Regions from separate parts of the Homo sapiens genome. Here regions 2 and 3 are each linked to region 1. Evidence: promoter capture Hi-C in 16 types of primary human blood cells and fetal thymus (Javierre and others, 2016). All regions are on one chromosome and are shown on one strand. Each heading gives the region's core, a stretch centred on a gene start or on the middle of the fragment in contact. The rest is flanking DNA. Distances are from core to core; before and after follow the strand shown.

The links. The method cuts DNA at HindIII sites, captures the fragments that hold promoters and counts their contacts. A CHiCAGO score of 5 or more calls a contact.
Region 2: a fragment that was not itself captured here is called in contact with the fragment with the promoter of EPHA3 in region 1 in 3 of 17 cell types (M1 macrophages, total B cells and naive B cells); the score reaches 6.5 in M1 macrophages.
Region 3: a contact is called between a fragment that was not itself captured here and the fragment with the promoter of EPHA3 in region 1, in 1 of 17 cell types (M2 macrophages). The highest score is 6.2, in M2 macrophages.

Annotation. Positions count from the first base shown.
Region 1 is chr3:89,106,188-89,109,236 of GRCh38, reverse strand. It overlaps EPHA3 (EPH receptor A3), which reads right to left and starts at 1,616. Exons shown (of 17, transcript NM_005233.6): 1 at 1,401-1,616. The coding sequence starts at 1,488. RefSeq lists an enhancer at 1,635-1,774. The HindIII fragment of the contact is 3,372 bases long and covers 769-3,049 here.
Region 2 is chr3:87,296,889-87,299,937 of GRCh38, reverse strand. No RefSeq gene overlaps it. Among named protein-coding and RNA genes, the nearest start is that of POU1F1, 22 kb to the right of the region's middle. The HindIII fragment of the contact is 163 bases long and covers 1,321-1,483 here.
Region 3 is chr3:90,129,864-90,132,912 of GRCh38, reverse strand. No RefSeq gene overlaps it. Among named protein-coding and RNA genes, the nearest start is that of EPHA3, 1.0 Mb to the right of the region's middle. The HindIII fragment of the contact is 2,907 bases long and covers 67-2,973 here.

The sequences.
Region 1 (3,049 bases), core at 367-2,866:
TTTGTGGGTAAGATAATTTTCTTGATCCTTATATTTTAGAATTTTCATTTTCTTATTTAGAAAAAAGATTCAGAACATTTAATGAAAACTGCCAAATTGATAAAGGCAGTCAGTAAGGAAGGAGATAAATTACTGCTCTATTAGCAGTGAAAGTAGGTCACCGAGTATCAGGCAGTTATTACATTTAATAAAAAACTTTCTAAGTATTTTGTTTTTACTCGTGTTTTTAAAATTAAGGTACATATACAACAGTATTGGCTTGACAATATATTTTCTAAGGAGTGATGTATATAACATGATGTTTGCACATCAGTTGCTCGGTATTGTTAACTTGCAAAATAAATTGCTAAATGTTACTGTTATAAGTTCAAAATCACTAAGAGGAAATTAATGTTGTAAGTGTGGCTTTACACTAATCAATTATTTAGAGAAGTTTGTTTTACGAGTTAGTGACTGTATTCACAAGAATAGATCACAAAAGGAATACAGGAGAAAGAAAATGTATGTATTAAGTACACAATCTTATAGAACACATTGGTGTCCTTAACATTAGGTTTGCACTTTAACCCACTGAAAAGGAATTAATGCTCATTACAAGGATAATAAATAACACAACATCAAGGAAATGCCATTTGCTGCATATGAACATTCTCTCTTAATCTACTATTCAGTTATTTACTATATCTTCCCAGGAGCTATCCACTATTCATTAAATACATTCTCCTATTTGTATATAAGCCTTTAAACAAAGAGAATCCAACCTAAGCTTATTGTAATTCTTGCAAATATTACTTACGTTAATGTGGCATATGCTGCTCTTTAGAACCTGTACCATAGAGCAAACCATTGCCTGGCGGGATACACACAACTTCAACACAGCCCTTGCACCATAAACACGCACCTCCGCTTCGACAAACTCTGATTTCCCTTTAGTCCATTCATAAATGCCATGATCCCAAGTAGGAACAACCTGTCATTACCTTTAAACATACTAAAGAGTCTAGAGAGGAAGGCTGAATTTTCTTTCAAACTTCTCGGAGTACCACATGGTCATAATTAGAAAATAAAATACTGCCTTGGCTATTTGGCAATTAACATAACTGGGTTGCAACGCTGGAGGATTTTCTTTCTTTCTTTCTGCTCAAATTGGCAAACAAGGTAATTGCTCGAAATGGTGTCAGATTAAAAACACATTTTCAAAGTTTAGACCATCTAAAATTATCTCCTGAAGTGTTTTAGAAGACAGTTGGAAAAAAAAAAGGCACATCTTTCCTTCACTCTCAGAGCAAACTGCTCTATTCGGAGGCACCTTCCCGACGTGCAAGGCTTCGGTGAGAACGTGCTTTGAAGAGCGTGAGCCCCGCGGGGCAGAGCTCCGTGCGTCGCGGTACCTGGCTTACCTTCATTGGAAGGCTGCGGAATCAGTTCCCCGAAGCTGTCGAGAACAGAGCAGCTGAGAAGGAGGAGGATGGAGAGCTGACAATCCATGTTGCTGGTGCAGAGGGCAGTGAGAGGAGCATATCTCCATGAAGCATGCCACTGATGTGAGGGGGAGCGCTCTGATTGCTGGAGAAGTTACCATGCTCCGCTCGCAGGCTGATGTCAAGTTTGACACTGGAGATAAGGAGGAGTCTGGCTGCCTTTCCGCGAACCCCGCTCGGGGACTTCCCTGGGTCCTAGTGCCGTCTTCAGCGTGCGCTGAAGCAGAGCGGGATGGCACGCAGCTGGCTCTGCAGCCCAGAGCTGCTCGGGAAGGAGACCGGGTGGGAGTGGGGGCGTCGCCCATGGGACAGGAAACACAGAAGATGTGATGAGGCCGCGGTGCTGAGAAAAATGCTCCCTCTTTTGTGTTGCATGAAAAGTAGCTGTTTTATTGTTTGCTATCCATGCTCTGTTGCTTAATTCACCGAAGAAATCACAGCCTTGATAGGAGTATCATATGGCAATGTGAGTGCAAAAGGAACTGAAATGCGAGAGAAACGTGTGTTTTGAAAGAATAGCAGTCTTTCGTTAAAAAGTCAATCATGTTTGTATAATTGAAAAAAATGATTATAGTTATTCCTTTACTGTGTTCAATGTGATCATAACTCTCCATGAGTTCTTTGTGATTCAGAAAGACACTAATACACAGCCTGAATCAGAGGGTCTCTGCATTTCCACACCCAATGGTATCGTGGCTTTTTACTAGATCTGGCACAGTGATTTTCCGCGCACATAGAGCATACTTTGTTTTTTTTCAAACAGGGAAGTTGACCTTCATCATCTTACGGAAGGGAGCAAGTCTAACCCCAGCCGGAGGTCTACATTCTTTTCTCGTTCTGTGTTGTAAAAGTAATACAGATCAAACCTAAATTTCTTAATAATACATATCCCCCTCCCTCACCATCTCACATTAGGATCTCTGGGTTCTGCAAGAGAAACAATGCATAATTCACAGCTCCTCCATTCAACTTTCAACCACTGATAGTCTAATAATATTGGGGTATTCTTATTCTTTAACATTCCAAATCCAAAAGCTAAATAATAATGTCCTCGTACTTTCTCACTTATTTTACACCATGACTATCAATGGTCTCTGTTATTTCCAATCCCATTGCTGAACAACCTATTGCAATCTAGTTCAGCCAAACAATTTTGTAATTTATATTTTAATAACCAGCATCACTTATCTTTAAAATATCTCCCAGAAAATGGTTACTCAGATATCCTTCCGCCCATCTATCTCTTCTTATACTAAAAAGAAAACAAGATTATTATATTCCTCTCACAACTTCAGAAAATAAAGGTATGTTGATAATCTTAAGATCAGTGATCAATTTTAGAGCTCTTGATAATGAAACTTAAATGAAAGTTTGAAAAGCCCTTGCTAATAATGTATTCAGTCCACAAACTCAATGTTTTTAGTTAGAGAACACAATTTTCACTTGAATTTAAGTTAATGGTGCCAGATAATAGTTTGATGACTGGGGTGGGGAATTGGGGTGGATAGAAGCAGCCAGGGGAAAAGAGAGATCCTTCTCACTTTTCTGTGTATGCCATGTTACTTTGT
Region 2 (3,049 bases), core at 153-2,652, 1.8 Mb after region 1:
ATCTAATCTTTGGAACTTAGCTTAACTTGGTTTGTATTAGCAGTTCTCTTTTTTAAGTATATTACCTCTGCAAAAACACTATAAGCTCCTGCATATGAGTAACAGAGTGTTATAACTATTTGTATCCCCTGTGTCTCATGGGATATCCATCCAAAATTATTTGAAGTCTAAAGAATTCAGTATTAATTAATCAATTTTGATGTTTCATTTAATTATTTGTATAACAATTGGTAGAGAGCAATCACAAGCATATATTAGATTATTATTGTACTTTTTATTCATGCAATTTCTTTACGTAATTTGAAAGGAAAAAAAATAAATCAAACTTGTATTTTAGAATTAGGTTGGCAAGCCGGGTGCGGTGGCTCACGCCTGTGATCCCAGCACTTTGGGAGGCTGAGGCGGGCGGATCACGAGGTCAGGAGATCCAAACCATCCTGGCTAACACGGTGAAACCCCGTCTCTAACTAAAAATACAAAAGCAATTAGCCGGGCGTGGTGGCGGGCGCCTGTAGTCCCAGCTACTCAGGAGGCTGAGGCAGGAGGAGAATGGCGTGAACCCAGGAGGCGGAGCTGGCAGTGAGCTGAGATCGCGCCACTGCACTCCAGCCTGGGCGACAGAGCGAGACTCCGTTTCAAAAAAAAAAAAAAAAAAGAATTAGGTTGGCAAACCGTTTTGTAAAGGGCAGATAAGTATTTTGGATTGTGTGGGCCAGCCCATCTATAACACAGTTGTTCAACTCAGCTGTTGGTGTGAAACATTCATAGACAATACACAAATGAACATACATAGCTACGTTCCAGTAAAACTTTATTTACAAAATGAGTGGTGGCCTAGATTTGGCTGCCTAAAGAGTTTTCCTAGTGTGTTGTTCTAGGGTGTTGGTGAGAATATATTAAACTAAAAACATATATCTTATTTCAATTGTACGTAGAGATACAAGTTTATAAAGTAAATAAAGCAATATTCCCTCAGTAGAGTAGATTTTCCTTAAACACTTTCTGATATTCAGCAAAACTTATGCTAGCAAACATATATAATGTGATCTTTGGTACTGCAAATTTTGAAAATACTTTGCAGTACAGCATAACTTTGTTTTAAAAATATTATAATCGTTCATGTATTGATGGTTTCAGTGGTAAGATTAGATAAAACAATAAAATAAATAGTTGTTACATTTTTCTTGAAAATTGAAACAAATAATTATCATTTACTGATGATTCAGAGTTGATTTTAAACAGTTTCATTATGGAGTATAATTTTTTTTATTAATAAATAAGTACATTTGGAACCTTCTAAGCAAATGCCACTTTAAAGCTTTTCATAAATATCTGCCTTTATCTTAGGCAGATTTGCCCTGGAAACACACTCAATGTGTATTCTGGGTGCTCCTCTTTTGCATAGCTCCAAATTTTCTGAAGAAACAGATATATACCTTTCATCATCTCTGTATAATTCATAAAAGTACCCAGAAGTCAAGCTTTAACTTTTTATTTGCAGGTTTTAATAAAGAAAAATATTAAAATATGACTTGACTTTAGAAGTTGATTTTCCTGACAGCAATCAATAGTCCCAGCGAAATGTTAACAATTCATTTTGTTTTCCCTGGTTCAGTGTATCATAGTGCCACCTGCTGGTGTAATTAAAGAAATTGCCAGTATAATGGAGGAAAAAGCAAACATAGTGGGCATAGTATGAAAGTGGACCGTGAGAATCTAGAAAGTTAAGTAATGTACTGTATGCAAAGTACGTAAAGTTACTTTAGCTAATTTGAATTTTACTTTTTAAAAATTCATTTAAAAATGCAGTAAAAGTGTCCATCCAAGACCTGGAAAACGTTTGTAATAGCAAAAGTTTCTAATGAGGAGTTGACTTTAGGTACAAGAATTGCTTTTAATTCAACTTTTTGTTTGAAATTGTTCTAAATTTTTTATATAAAAGCATTTTAAGAATTTTTAAGACTATTTGAACGCAATTTGTGCGATGCACACTCATCAATAATAAACATGCCTTTAATCAATTTTCCATTGTATTTCCTGAGTCTGTGGGTGAATGATCACTGCATGCTACAGTCAGAGTAGCCTGCAATACAGGCCTCTCTCTTCCCCTCTCAAGTTCTCTAATTTCTTTTATTCATGGAAATCACCTAAACAATTAACAGAAATGTAAACCTGCATTTAAAATAAAAATAATTAGAATGGAAGTATTGGTGCCAGCTTACAAAAGGCTTATAATTTAACTCTAGAGTGTTTGTATGGGGAGAGGCCAGGAATGACAGATCCCTGCTTAGAAACTTTGTTTGTTTTTATTGAATAAATGAAATAAAAGTTTTACCACTCTGGATTAACTCTCAGCAATTGGCTCTTAATTTTGTTTAACTCATCCTTCCAAACATATTTTGGATAACAGTTTACTGTTCTTTTCCTGGGGCAGAAAAATAAAGTAGGGGAGAAATGGCAAAGCAGATGCACCCTGAAGGTGAAATTTTGTAACAGGCAAAGTTTATAAAGTCACGTTTCTGAGCGTTTTTCGGAGGGGATTCTAGAAACGCTCATGTCTTTATGCTGTGCTCTAGTTGCACAGTGCTGCCATGAAAACATTTAGTACTTGGAATATTTGCTGTCTCCCTTAATGTAGTCATCCATGTGCCTGCCATGAACCAAAGGTCACAGTACCCCTCTCTGCATCCTTTCTGCTACATAACTTGGATATTTCTTTTCTTGCTTCATTTGTAATTCTCTGGCTTTCAATACTTTTTTTGTAAGTGACTTAAAAATTTTTTAAAAAATAGTCTGGGTACAAAGCATAAATATACTCAATAAAAAAATTTACTGTAGGTTTTATTCTCTTGAAGACCTTTTTTGGGGAAAAATGATCAGTTTTACCAGTAACTTAAAGAATTATTGGTTGAGGTTTCGTGTGGTTGGTTGTTTTCAAAACCTTCTTTAAAATGAAAGGAGTAATAAGAATATGAGCATTTTATCTACCTAGTATATTAGTGCCAAATTATGGGAAAGATGCAAAGTCTTTGGGAACCTGGAGGTTCAC
Region 3 (3,049 bases), core at 271-2,770, 1.0 Mb before region 1:
TCACTGAAGTTTTTCTCAGACTAAAAAGATAAATAAATACATACATAAAGACGTAACAACCAAGCTTATAAAGACAGGTTCTTATTTTAATTTGGAACAGTTCTACTCTTAGAAAATTTGTCAACAAAAGCACACAAATTGAATCCTGTTTATTTTATTGTAATTAAGTCAAGAGTGGACATTTTCTACACTATCCCTTAAGAAATAAACAATAAGGTAAGTTACTTTTTACTTTTTTTACACTATTTATTTTTCCAATATGAGAATAATTAGTGAGCTCATTCTTTTAACAGCTGTCCCTGTTGTTCAGGATTTTTCTAAGAAGATCAGGGCCACTGGATGGAAAATAGAACTTAAAAAATCTAATAATAATAATAAAAAACCCACAAAGCATGTCTGAGGAATTAAGTAAAAACAATAAATAAGTCATTTTACAAGAGTTCAGTGATCTGGAACTTCCTATTCCACTTACCCACATTGAGGTTGTGTTGGTTAGTGTCAGTGGGAAATCTTACCCTGAAATGGAAAAATATTAGCAATGAGTCAGCCTCAAAGGGTTCACATTGAGTTTGAATAAGTATCCTGAGTTCAAACGTCTATTGGGATCTTAGTTAAACCTCTACCATCTACTAGTGCAGACCAAAAACTTTGACAGAACTGGCTTTTTTCCAGTATTGCTCCAGCATCTTCTGTCTCTATCAGAATGTTAATTTCTAAATTCCCTATATCCCTTATGTTTAATATATTTTCCATTCTTGCTCAATGGGTGTTCCTTCTTCACAGACATAGTAACGTTGAAAGTAAATTTACATATGCAGAAGATATGCAGTGGTAGGAAAAAGGTGAAGAAAATCTAACACCAAAGAAGTAAAACTCAGAGTTTTAGAGCCTCTGATTATAAGTGAATATGAGAAACACATGGGAAAAGAAAAGGTTAAAACTTTACAAAATTCTGCAAAAATGCATGACAATAAGTAAAAACAGTGTTAAGTTAGCTGGTTACATACATTAAATGTCATTTGATGAGGTCTTTGTAAAAATAATTCAAGCTATTAGATCTTTGGTTTGCACTGCCAAGCATAATTTATCCATTATCCGTTCCTCGTTAAATCAGAAAATTTCATATAATGTATCTTAGTAATTTAAAAAAATGTGATATGGGGGTTGGGAATTCTGAACATCAATATTCTTATTACTAGACTTTCTTCATACTACACAAACTAAATCTTAAAGGAGGTTCTGTTTTATCCTAGAGTAATTCCCTAGCTATGACATCTTAAAATTTCATGCCAGTGTGTTTAGAGTTGAACAAATTAGGAAGATATGGGGAGTAAAACTGGCCCTTTTGTAATTCTATAATAAATTATTATTATATATTTTGCTAACTTTGTTTGCAACTTCTAATAAAATATTTGATTGTGGCAATAATCATTAACAAGTGATAAATACTATTAGGTGAAAGATTGCTACAGATATTCATGAGATGTAAAAATATCATCACAAATATTACTTGTTGGTCACCAAGGGAAAAAGATATACTTTTATAGAGAAGGGATAAAGCTGTCACCCCATCAACTGAGAATCCAATGTTAGCATCACTAATATTGCAGATGTGATGTATGTCTTATTGTGATGCAGTATGAGGTACATAGCATCACCTATAAAGTATTATGTTGCATCACACTCCAGCACAATGTTTGTTCTAATTGGCTTCAAGACTTCTTTTGAATTTTGAGAGAATTTCAAGATGAAATGAGTATTAAATGGTACAAAAAATTAAGTTTGTTAAGTGCAATAATGGTGTTTTCTTATACAGGAAAACATTATCTTTAAGGATTACAAATAGTGATGTGGTGTTGTATTTAGGGCTTAAATATCATGATGTCTATATTTACTCCAAATTATAACACAAAAATAGATTAAATAATATAGTAATTGCCAGTTGTTAATTGTGATGATGAATGTATTACTCAGGGTTCTCCAGAGAAACAGAACCAAACGAATGTATGTGTGTATATATACATATATACGTATATATACACCTATATATACATATATACGTATATATACACCTATATATACATATATACACATATGCACACATACGTGTGTGTATATATACACATATCTATGTGTGTGTATATATATGTACATATATATACACATATTTATGTGTGTGTGTGTGTATATATATATATAGACTGAGAGAGAGAGAGATTTATATTAAGATAATTTTGTTTTAAAGAATTGCCTAAAATGATTATGGAGACTTTACCAGCCAGTCCAAAATACGCGGGGTGGACCAGAGAAGGGCCAGTGTTCAGGTGAAGTCTGAAGGCCATTTGCTGGGGAAAGCTCAGTCTTTTGTTCATTTCAAGTTTTCAAATGATTGTATGAGGCCCACCCACATCATGGAGGACAATCTGCTTTACTCAAAGTTCATGGATTTAAGCATTAATCTCATCCAAAAACTTGCTTACAGAAACATCCAGAATAATGTTTGACCACATATCTAGACACTGTGGCCCAGCCAAGTTCACACATAAAATTAACCATCACAATGGGTATATGAAACTTATTATTTTTCTACCTTTCTGCTAGATTTAAAATCTTCGAAATTAATATTTTTTAAAATATTTAAAAATTTATCTTGTAGATATTTATTTCTTATAAAATGTTGTTCCATTAGTTGTTGTTTCATTAGTTGTATGAAAAATTAAAATATGAATTCTGAGAATACAGAAAAGTTTATTATCAGTGCTTACTTTATCAACCTTAGTCAATGACATTTACACACTGCTCTTTACAGTATTATACAGAGAACAGAAACGAAAAAGAAAAAAAAAATTGAAGTCTTTGATGTTTAAAGTAGGAAAAACAGATGTGAAAGATTCGGTGGTTTAGGTTTCTGGTATATTTTATGCTGCATCTGTGGAGAAAAATGAAAAAAATTATTCTAATCCCATAGAAGCTTTCAAAGGATTTTTTTTTAAATTGCAAGTCCAAATCAATTACGTCATCCAATGATATCTATATGGACATGTTTAAA